Linked DNA regions of Homo sapiens: region 2 is linked to region 1. The links are contacts of gene promoters, found by promoter capture Hi-C in human tissues and cell types (Jung and others, 2019). All regions are on one chromosome and are shown on one strand. The core of a region is centred on a gene start or on the middle of the fragment in contact, and the rest is flanking DNA. Distances in the headings are between cores, read along the strand shown.

Evidence for each region. The method cuts DNA at HindIII sites, captures the fragments that hold promoters and counts their contacts. A contact is called where the count stands out against the background at its distance.
Region 2: a fragment that was not itself captured here is called in contact with the fragment with the promoter of BEND3 in region 1 in 2 of the 25 tissues and cell types used here (aorta and pancreas).

The regions. Positions count from the first base shown.
Region 1 is chr6:107,113,026-107,118,761 of GRCh38, forward strand. It overlaps BEND3 (BEN domain containing 3), which reads right to left and starts at 2,490. Exons shown (of 4, transcript NM_001367314.1): 1 at 2,065-2,490. RefSeq lists silencers at 1,204-2,113, 2,244-2,293, 2,334-2,383 and enhancers at 2,976-3,739, 3,740-4,505. The HindIII fragment of the contact is 9,723 bases long and covers 1-5,736 here.
Region 2 is chr6:107,197,575-107,203,310 of GRCh38, forward strand. The region is part of intron 6 of PDSS2 (decaprenyl diphosphate synthase subunit 2); the gene reads right to left. Among named protein-coding and RNA genes, the nearest start is that of BEND3, 85 kb to the left of the region's middle. The HindIII fragment of the contact is 4,918 bases long and covers 188-5,105 here.

The DNA of each region.
Region 1 (5,736 bases), core at 1,240-3,739:
CACGCGCCTGTAGTCCCAGCTACTCGGGAGGCTGTGGCAGGAAAATCCCTTGAACCTGGGAGGCGGAAGTTGCAGCGAGAAGAGATCACGCCACTGCACTACAGCCTGGTGATAGAGCGAGACTCTGTCTAAAAAAAAAAAGCACGGTGGCTCATGCCTGTGATCCCAACACTTTGGGAGGCCAGGCAGGCAGATCACCTGAGGTCCGGAAACCAGCCTGGGCAACATGGTGAAACTCCGTCTCTACTACAAATACAAACATTAGCAAGGCATGGTGGCACATGGACTGTAATCCCAGCTACTCCGTGAGGCTGAGGCAGGAAAATCGCTTGAACCCGGGAGGCAGACGTTGCAGTGAGCAGAGATCAAGCCACTGCACTCCAGCCCGGGTGACAGAGCGAGACTCCGTCTCAAAAAAAAAAAAAAAACAAAAAAAAAACTCATGTTCCATGACAGGAGGTTGATGTGACAGATTTCAAGGGCCACACAGACACCAGCTAACCCAGCAGCAGCAACTGGCGCTCTGGCTCCATCTTTCCTCTAGAATCCAAGAGGCTCTCTCCATTCATTTAGGAAATACGCACTGAACGCCTACTAAGTTATGAGACACCGGGTTAGAGGCTGGGGATGTGAAACTGTGAGGGAGATAAAAAATCTTGCCCAAGTCCCAGTACCGAGGAAAGCTTGACAGGCTCTTGTATGGTAGTATAAAGCCAATATCTAGGGATGAATGGTTTAAAAAAAAAAGAGAGAAAAACGGACTGCAAGGGTGGAAGTGGGGAGCGGGTAACAAGAGAAAGTCCTCCATCCCAGCCGTTTATATACCTGGCTACCTGAAGGACTCAGTTCCTTACCTCAGTTTCCTGCAACCGTAGCTTTCTGGCACTATGCCACGCTGCCCTGTGGCATGTTTACTATTTGTATTCAACCATTCAAAAGTTACTTTAAGGAGATGAACTGCACATTTCCAACTCTAGTGAGTAACCTTGTTCCTCCCGGCACTCTTGTCGAGTTAGCGTTTACGTGCAGAATTCTTCCAGAAAGACCACCTGAGCAATCAATAAAACTTTTATCTCTGTAAAAACACCTTGTTTAAAATAGCTACATAGGGAGACGTAGGTAAACAAGCACACAAGGGCCTCCAAATCGGTGGTGCACAGCTCACGGATGAGGCAAGGGCAAAGCATGCGTGGGAAATCACGTTTATCATAGAGAAGGAAAGGAGCGCTCACGAGGAGCGGCGAGCGCCCCAGGCTTCAGCTTTGCGGCCGGCCGGCCAGGCCTCGCGCCAGCCCGGGTGCACACCCAAGGCGCCGGGCCCGCCTCCAGCTCCTGGGCAGCGGGAACCGCGAACCGCCGTGGAACGGCCGGGAAGGGAGCGCTGCGCCCCCTGGCGGCGGGGCCCATCCCTCTCCGCTCCCGGCCGCCGCCGCCGCGGGCCGGCCTCGCTCCATTTGCAGCCTCCGGAGGCTTCGTTCCTCCGAGCGGCTGCTCCCCCGGCCTCCCGCTCGCCGCCCGGCATCTCCCTCCAGTCCCCGCCCCCTGCTCCCGCTCCGACACCCCCTTCCACACGCCGAGCAGTGCCCCGCCAAAGCCCCGCCGAGCGCGAGCGCCAAGCCGCCGCGAGTACGGCAGAGCCTTCCGGCCGCCCCGGCCGCTCCATCGCGGCGCCCGGCGGGGGTGCGGGGCCGGCGCGCGGCGCGAGTGGGGCGGGCGGCGGCGGCGGCGCGGACGGTTCCACCGCGCGAACCCCCCGCCCCCGCGCGGCGCGCGTGCTCCCCAGAACGCCATGGAGCCGCCGCGTTCCGAGCGGGCACAAAGGGGCGCGCAGCACAATGGGCGCGGCGAGCCCGTGGGCGCCCGGCGCCCGCTCCGGTCGCTCGGCCCGCGCGGGGGTGGGCGCTACTACCGGCGGGCGCGCTCGGAGCAGCCCCCCTCCGCGTCCCCTCCCCTGCTCCCGCCCCCACCCCGGCATGGATGTTGCAGCCACTCTACCGGCCGCTCGCCCCGGAGCCGCCAACGCTGCCGCCGCCGCGCGGCCGGCTTGATCCGCCCCGCACTTACCTGGGACGCGAGTTCTGTACTTTGCCGGGCGGGCCCGCGCCGAGTTTGGGCGCCACGTGGGGGGGAGGGCGCGGGGCCGGGGAGTGGGGGCCGCGCGCGGAGGGCCTGGCCAGGGCGGCCCGGGGAGGCGCTGGGGGCGGCGGGCGGGCGAGCGCCGTGTATTTTCCCCTCTCTTTGTGTGTGTCCGTGCGCTGCGCTCTCGCGTGACGTGACGGGACTCCGTGTGTCATTTCCGCACAAGGACACAGGAGCCCCCGCTGCAGTGGAACCACAACCCCTCCGCCCCCACCCCCGGCCCGCCCCTCCCCCTCAGCGGGGCACACGCGGGACCGGCGGCGGCGGCGCTCGGGCGTGAACGGCCGCGGCGGGGAGCTCGGGCGCGCACTCCCGGGACCCAGGCGGCCCGGCGCGCTCGGCCAGCGCAGTGGCTCCACGTGGGCCCGCGCTGGCTGCCCGGGGCGGGGGCGGCGGCCGCGCACCCACGGCGCGCCGGGCAGGCGCCGCGAACAATGTCCCCTGTACCCCATGTGTCCTCCCACCGCGAGTTCGTCCTCGGAAACGTGGTTTCTCAGACCCGAGAGTTTGGCCCCAAACGGCTTTTTCTACTTTTTTGCCCCTTGCGGGACGGCGACTGTGCGGAGCTTGTCCCGCCTCGCGCCCACGCCTCTCCCGCATTTTTGGCCTTTGGGCCGCAGCCCAGGCCCCCGGGGCCGGTCTTCCCGCGCCGCCACCGGCACAAAGACCTTGGGGCGCGAGGGCCCGGGTGGCTCCTGCGGCCCCGCGGGGCGGCATGGAGTCCGGCGGGACCCGGGAGAGCGACCCTGGCGCTGGGAAAAGCTGGCTCTGGCCACTCCCCCTGCACGGTGGCCGCCCTCTGTTGTGAGCCTCAGAGCTAAAATCTGCTCTTGCAACCCGAAGTTCTGGGGTGTGAGGCTGCGGAGCGAGAGCTTCGGAAGCGCCCGCGCTCACAGACACACACCCCACAAACACAAACCCACGGGCTGTCTGCGCCGAGCGCCTAAAATAGAAAAACACGAGTCACCAACTCAATAAAGGCTGATTCTGTCTACTCCTAACTCTTGGACTGTAGATTCCCAGTTGATAAATACGAAATCTACCCCTCGGGTATTTTCTCAAGTCTCAGTGGCTGGGTAGGGGGAGGGGGAGGTGCTGGGTGAGAGTCAGGGAAGCCCAATTCAACAGTTTAGCCACGTTTGTATTTTAGGCAAACAATGAGAATGTAAATTTAAGAAAAATCCTTTAATTTGCCGATCAAAGAAAGTATAAAAAGAAAAATGCAAATGATCCCATCTGCTGCTCACAGCTGACTGGCTGCAAGGGAGGACCATGTGGCACGGCCCTGCGCGGTCAGTGAATAGGTAGAATAGATTTTTAAAAGAAGGCATATGTTGGCTCCTTGCTGCCCAGTCGCGGCGAGGGTTTGAATTAACGTATAGTTTGGGTTTACCGTACCCTCCTTCAGACCACTCCAATTGGGAATTTAGTAATTATGCAAGTTCCCCCCCTTCGGGCTTGAAATCAAAAGGCACAGGGTTAAGTTTGAGGAACTACGTGGAACATTCTCGAGCTGTATTTGGATTACTGGTTTAGTGAAGTCAGTACTAATTGCTATGCAAAATTAAGCAAGCAGCCTGAAGAACCAAGCCCTGCATCCAGGGGGTGCTTTTATAGAAGAATCTATACGTGCTCAGTGTCATTGAAAACAGGATGATGAAAAGAATGGGGCCGAGATAGCAGCCCTTCAAATTCAAAAGACTTAGGTCGCCCTATCTACATTTAAAATAGGGCGGAGGGAGGAAGGGAGGAGGACTGCTTGGGGGAGAATGGTTAATTTATACATTCGCAGAAGACTGAGGGGAGGCACTTCGATTTCTGCAGAGAACTTGACTTTTACACTTGCACATTAAATAACACGTACGACACAGTACATCGCTTGACTTAGTTAACAGATACACCAGTTTTATTCTCACCTTCAATTTAATGTGACAGTTATAATTAGAATTTTTAAAGTAGAAGTTGCATTTCATTAGTTCAGTTTTCTAGGATTTCCCAGTAGAAGAGTTAGGAATAGTTAAGTAGCACTTAAGCACATTTTGCATTTAAATCACTTTGCTGTGGTGCTTTAAGAATGTAAAACGACCTTGTTAAATTTTTGGAAAGAGGACTAGATGAAACGTGTGTAGTGAGGGGATATATATTTAACCAATCTTTCACAGTGACAACTCAGGTTTTTAAGGAGAAATTAAATAATAAGACAATAGAGATAGAAATTAACATTTCTCTGTTCATATTGCTTGAAACAAAAGATTTCTGTCAAATACAATAATTGAACTGATATAGCTGACTTTTCAAAACAACTTTCAGGAAACTCAAACGGACCTTGAATATTATTGTAAAAGTATGTATCTTATATTTGCATAAATGGATCTATCTACTTAACAAAGTAAGTGGCTTGTTTCAAATAAGTTATTAATAGAAATAGAAGTCATTGCTATCCAAGAAAGGAAATCACCTTCCTTCAAATGGTTTTCTATGTGGTTTTCTTTTTTATATGGAGAAGGAAAATAACGCATAAAGGTGAAAAATGTATTGGAATAGTTGTATATAATTTTGGAAACTTCAAGACATAATAGTTTTGAAAGTGCAGTAACAGTTCATGGTTCATACGGATGTGTGTGTAAAGACCCGGAAAAATAACAACCTGGTTTTTAGAGGTCTGCTCAATTTGAAATTGCTTAATAAAAAATGCATTTTTCAAGATTTCAAATTAGAGCTGCTGCCATCGATCTAGTCAACTCATTTTCATTTGTACCTGAGTAAAATGTAGCAGGGGGAAAACTGGCTACTTGACCATATAAAACACTGAGACACTAAATGTAAAAACTCAAATGGAAAATTGCGTTATATAAAATGGGATATAAAAGAAGATTGGGATATAAAATGTAAATATATATAATTAAGAGTGGCAGACAGACAGACATTAGGTTTCAGATAACTGTTACTCTAAAGGCTTTTATCATTGCTAAAATATATTTATAGTTGGCAAGACAATATTTAGTAGGACTTTTTTTCAGTAAAGACTTAAAACAACGCAACAGATTTCACTGTTACTTGTGAGACATTTCCACTTTATTTCTTGCCTGCTGGATGTATAATTTCGCCAAGTCTTCAACTTCAAACAGAAGTAGCTGGCAGATCCAGATTCTGTGAATACTCACAACAGAAAAGTAAGAGGGTGAAAAACAGGGGCGTGAGAGGTAGTACTATATTAAATAGGACCTACAGAAAGACATGCCTCAATGGTTAACCCCTGTGTGCTGAAAAAATAAACAACTATCTTTTTTTTTTTTTTTTTTTTGAGACGGAGTCTCGCTCTGTCGCCCAGGCTGGAGTGCAGTGGCGCGATCTCAGCTCACTGCAACCTCCGACTCCCTGGTTCAAGCGATTCTCCTGCCTCAGCCTCCTGAGTAGCTGGAATTACAGGCATGTGCCACCACGCCCAGCTAATTTTTGTATTTTTAGTACAGACCGGGTTTCACCATCTTGGCCAGGATGGTCTCGATCTCCTAACCTTGTGATCCGACCGCCTCAGCCTCCCAAAGTGCTAGAATTATAGACGTGAGCCACCACGCCCGGCCAACAACTATCTTT
Region 2 (5,736 bases), core at 1,397-3,896, 85 kb after region 1:
GATGGGGAGAAATCCTTGCATGTTGGGTCATAGAAGTGTCCTGTGTTGACTATTTTTGAGAGACTGTATCAAACACTTTTGAGTGTGTTTTCTTCCACTCACAGAAGCACAAACTGGGAGTCCTAGAGAATTGTTCCTGAGGTCAAACAGCTCAACACTGAGCACATCTGTCATTTCCTCACTGTCAATGTTGCCTCTCTTCTAACCATCTCCTCTTCATGCTCTCTCAATATTCTCATCGTTCAGTGCTTATCATGCGGTGCTTAAGAGTGTTGAAAGTAGCATTTGTTGAAAGTTAGAAAGTTGAACTTCTGTACTTGAAGACTGAAAGGCAAACCATGGAGAAACTATGACTGACAATGACTTAGGGGTGGAATTTTCCTTTTGGCTGCATTGAGCCACCTCCCACTCTGTCTCAAAAAAATTCAACAGGTAAGAAGAGTGAATATAATATTCTTTACTGATAAGGACATCTAGAATAGCCCTATCACAAATTCCTGTAAAACCATTTTTCCCATCCCATACTTTGTTTATAGACTAATCATCTTGGAAAATTCTAGTACTTTGAATTACCTGTGCTTAATCACAACTTATTTGCAAACCTCAAACTCTCTCACTTTACTTTGTCTTCTTAGCTTGGCCACTACCCTGTCACCCAGTAGGGACACATTGTTGGGGATGACGGCAGAGAAATTCCATGGATATAATCTAGATCTGCTCAACATCAGCTCTATAATGTTTTGAAAGCTGAGAGAGTAGAAGCCTACATAAAATGACAACACCGTTACCACAGCCATTATAATCTGAACATGCAACTATTGATATGTGGCTCACCCGAATATCCTTTTCATTTTGTCACAATAAATGTTCTAGCTCTATGAAATCATTTTACTCTTGATCACTTTAGCTTGTACATAAAAGTATCATTTATTTTAGGAAAAAACTCTGGTAAATATTTAAACTTCTATAGGTATATAATACATATATGTTTCCAGCTGATACATGGGTATAATATCTAAATATGCCAAACATACCTGACAACAGACATTCTGATATGGTGTTTTCTCACAAAAAGCTTTAGAGCTTTTAAAAATATACTGACCAGGCACGGTGGCTCATGCCGGTAATTCCAACACTTTGGGAGACCAAGGCGGGCAGATCACATGAGCACAAGAGTTTGAGATCAGCTTGGGCAACATGGTGAGAAACCTGTCTCTACAAACAATAACAACAACAACAACAACAACAACAACAACAACAACACAGCAAAAATCAGCCAGGCATGGTGGCGCGCACCTGTAATCCCAGCTACTTAGGAGGCTGAGGTGGGCAAATTGATTAAGTCCAGGAGGTCAAGGCTGCAGTGAGCTGTGATTGCACCACTGCATTCCAGCCTGGGTGACAGAATGAGACCCTGTCTCAAAAAATAAATAAATAAAAATATGTCAAGTTAGATACAAATAAATGATTTAGATTCCTACATAAATGATATTTCTCATTAAATACTATCCTTATTCTTTTTGTAAGATAGTTAATTTGGGAGAAGCGATAGTTTCTATTACACCTCTTGGTTGCTCATTCATTTAACAAATACTCATTCAGCACCTACTATGAGTCAGACACTGCTTAGGCACTACAGACACAGGCATGAACAGAACAGATCAAAATGTGTGACCTCTTGGAATTTATATTCTAGGAGGTTACAAAGTATTGTGATTGACTGACTGTTTGATTGGTTGATTAAACAGGGTCTTACTCTGTCTGTCACCCAGGCTGAGTGCAGTGCTGTAATCACAGTTCACGGCAGCCTCAACCTCTCAGGTTCAAGTGATCCTCCTGCCTCAGCCTCCTGAGTAGCTGGGGCTACAGGTATGTACCACCATGCCTGGTTAATTTTTAATTTTTTATAGAGATGGGGTCTCACTATGTTGCTCAGGCTGGTCTCGAACTCCTGGATGCAACTGATCCTCCTGCCTTGGCCTCCCAAACTGCTGGGATTACAGGCATGGGCCACTGCACCTACCTACACAATACTGTTTTAGATATGCTTCGTCTACAATCTCCCAAGCTCCATGAAAGCAAGGAAATTTTCTCTTGCTCACAACTGTATCCCAAGTTGAGATCAGTGTCTGAGTGAATGAATAAATGGATGAAGCTTTTTCTTTATATGTATTGGTTATGTACTACTTATTCAGGGAATGTACAGGAAAAACGAATTTTACTCACTCCTAGTTCTAGGAAAGCTGGATGTTTTTGTTTGTGAGCTAGTATGCAGGTAATGTAGAGCCCTTAGCTGATGCCTTACATGTAATTTTTACCCATATAGAACAATGGCATATTTTCATTTTCTCACCCACCTTCTATTTATAAATACACTAAAGAAGGGAACCTAAGCTTCCATCTGTAGAAAACAAATTCAATGATTTCATGAAAATTAACCAACAAAAGGCTAGGACAGAGAAGAATTAGTGTAATTAAGTGCTTCAACCTTAAAAGCAGTGCGTCTAAAGGAAAAGACCTTAGAATGGAAGTTAACAGATCTCCAGAGAGATTTCAAGACATACACCTCAAAATTTCAGGGATTAAAGGCCTTGTCTACTGATTACAGCAAAAGGCCTAAGATCTTAATTGTGAACACTTCAAGAGGCATTGTGACCTGGGAAGATGGATATGTTGGGAGCCAGAAAATATGGTTTCTAGTCCTTCATTGGTTAATAACTTGAATAATTTTTACATTTTTGTATAGGCCTTCATTTCTTGATCTGTAGAACACCAGACCAGACCAGAAGTTCCCAGATGCTGGGCTCTCACAAATGCTGGGCTGGATGTATTGGAATCACCTGGGTAGCTTGCGAAAAATGCAGATTCTCCATAGCCTACCCCTGTGATTCTGATTTGTTTGAGGATCATTGGTCTGGCCTATGTCTAATGTCTTTTTTAATTTGTGCTTCTATGTGCATCAGGGTTTACTTCAAAGGCTGAAAGAGAACAACTATGTAAACTCCATAAGTCTCGAGGAGAATGGACTGCAACTTTTCCCTTTTTGTTCTGACACCTGCCACTTATCATGTGTATTTCTAGCAGAGCAAGATATTATTATTATTATTATTGAGATGGAGTCTCACTCTGTTCCCCAGGCTGGAGTGGAATAGCGTGATTTCGGCTCACTGCAACCTCCACCTCTCAGGTTCAGGCGATTCTCCTACCTCAGCCTCCCTAGTAGCTGGGATTATAGGTGCCCACCACCATGCCTGGATAATTTTTGTATTTTTAGTATAACGGGGTTTTGTCGTGTTAGCCAGGTAGTCTCAAACTCCTGTCCTCAGGTGATCCGCCCACCTCAGCCTCCCAAAGCGTTGGGATTACAGGCATGAGTCACTGCGGCCAGCCAGAGCAAGATATTATTAAAATAACTTTCTCACAGGGGCCCAAAATAGGCTGATATAAAATAAATGGAATCTATATTTCAACAGCCAGCAGTCCTGAACCTCTTCCTGCCACACTGTTCGTCCCCAGAAGCCGCTGTAAATTCTACCATACACAGCAATTCCCTGAGGGCTTCATTACTAGGGTCTTTAAAAGGGATTCACTCATCTTTTTGCCTCCTGTAGGTGTGCTTCTTGTCAATCCAGGTCAAGAGAAAAGAAAGTAATTTTTTCCAAATCTTTAGCAGTTCACAGAGAATGTGTGGTTTGAACCTTGTTTTATCTTTTAAAAATGTGAAAATAGACAAGATAGTGTGCCTGTGCTCATGACACTGGAGGCCTCCTCGGACAGCTATAGTGAACACTGTAAAACAATATTCCATACAAAAGCAAAAAAAAAAAAAAAAAAAAAAAAGCCAGCACTCTGATTGAGAGGATGCACAAAGGAATTAATTCCAAAGGTTTATATACCAGTCTCTGTAGACTAAAGGCAGACAGATTCCCTGTTGGTAAGTAATGGATGTACAATGTGGTCTTTTACTTTAAGAAACAAACGTTTTTTTATAAGTCAGGTAACAAAGAAGGATTGGATGACATAAATGAACTGTTTCCAATTTCCAACTACTGTTATCTGGAGTTGAAAGCTGGATATGGGGACACCTTTTTCTAAAAGCAGAAAACTAATATTCCACAGCAGGGAGTCCAGAAATTGCTAGAGACTAATCATCTCTACTTATCAGGTTATTCTTCCCAAATGTTACAGGCTATATTTTAGAATAACTGCCATTTTTAAAGATTTCCTTTTTAAATCTTCAAGGAAAACTACCTTCCCCCGCAAACTTTTTAGTTGAAAGAATACAATGAACACTCATTTTCCCTCCACTTAGATTCAACAGTTGCTAACACCTTACCACTTCTGTTTTCCCCCTTTCTCTCCATGACCATTTATTATTTGAGAGTAAGTTTTAGACATAAGGATGCTCACCCCTAGATACTTCAGCATTTGTCCCTAAGAACACTGACATTTACTATAATAGTTAATTACTTATTTGTTTGTCTGACAGGGTCTCCCTCTGTTGCCCAGGCTAGAGTGCAGTGGCACAATCATGGTTCACTGTAGCCTTGACCTCCTGGACTCAAGAGATTCTCTAGCCTCAGCCTCCTGAATAGCTGGGATTACAGGTACACACCACCACACCTGGCTACTTTTAAAAGTTTTTAGTAGAGATGGGATCTTGCTATGTTGCCTAGCTGGTCTTGAACTCCTGGCCTCAAGCAATCCTCCCGCCTTGGCCTCCCAAAGTGCTGGGATTACAGGCATGAGCCACTGCACCCAGCCCTATAATGCTATTTAAAATACAGTTCAGGCTGGCCATCTCTGCAAAAAAAAAACAAACAAAACAAAACAAAACAAAACAAAACAGTGTGTAGTGTATGGGGATAACAGAAAGAAGGGTCACAAATCAGAAATCTACTACATCTGCTAGCCCGGAAGTTAGAGCAGCCCACTGAGTATTGGTTTGGTAGAAGCAGGCCTTGTGTTGCTCGGCTTTCTAGTTACAGAGCTGGAAAGATAGCAGAATATAAAGGAACAGGGCAGGCCTTTTCTCTGCTATCTTGGTCATTCTCTATGAATAAGAGAGCGCAGAAGGCATGTGCAAGGAAGTTAACACCATTCACACCTGGACTGCTTTGCTTGGGTACCTGATTTTACCATCTCTTTCAACTGGGAAAGCTAATCGACTTTTAGAGGCAAGCGTGGATGTCTAAGGAATTAATTTTCTCATATTCTGTTCCTTTGGTTCACTGGAGAAAAAGAAGCAACAGCAGATGTAGAAGGCTATGGTGTCCAATTTTAGAAAGGAGAGAGGCAAGGAGATACTAGATATACTAGAGTAAGGCGAGGAGATACTACTTGTATTATCTACATAACAAATCTCTCTCTGCTCAGAGGTCTTGTTATTTCTTTGTAACCTGTTTTTCTTGCTATGCTGCTCTCTTGGAATCTGGAAGAAACATGAAATTTTAAATTGCACAGTGTGACCAGGAAAAAAAATCGACTCAGGTCTCAGAAAGGCCATGATTAAGGAAATCAGGCTAATAGTAGAATTTAGTTGCTTCCTCCAGCAGCAAGTTCCCAAGGCAACGGCCATCAACCTTGATGGAGTACTTCAAACTCACCATGTCAAGAACCTAAGTTAAACCAGTCTTTCCACTTAACTTTCCTATTTCTATTAATGGCTTAATTTTTTCTGTTATCCTAGTCCAAAATCCTTGTTTTAGCCTCTGAGTGCCACTCCCCAGTCCACAC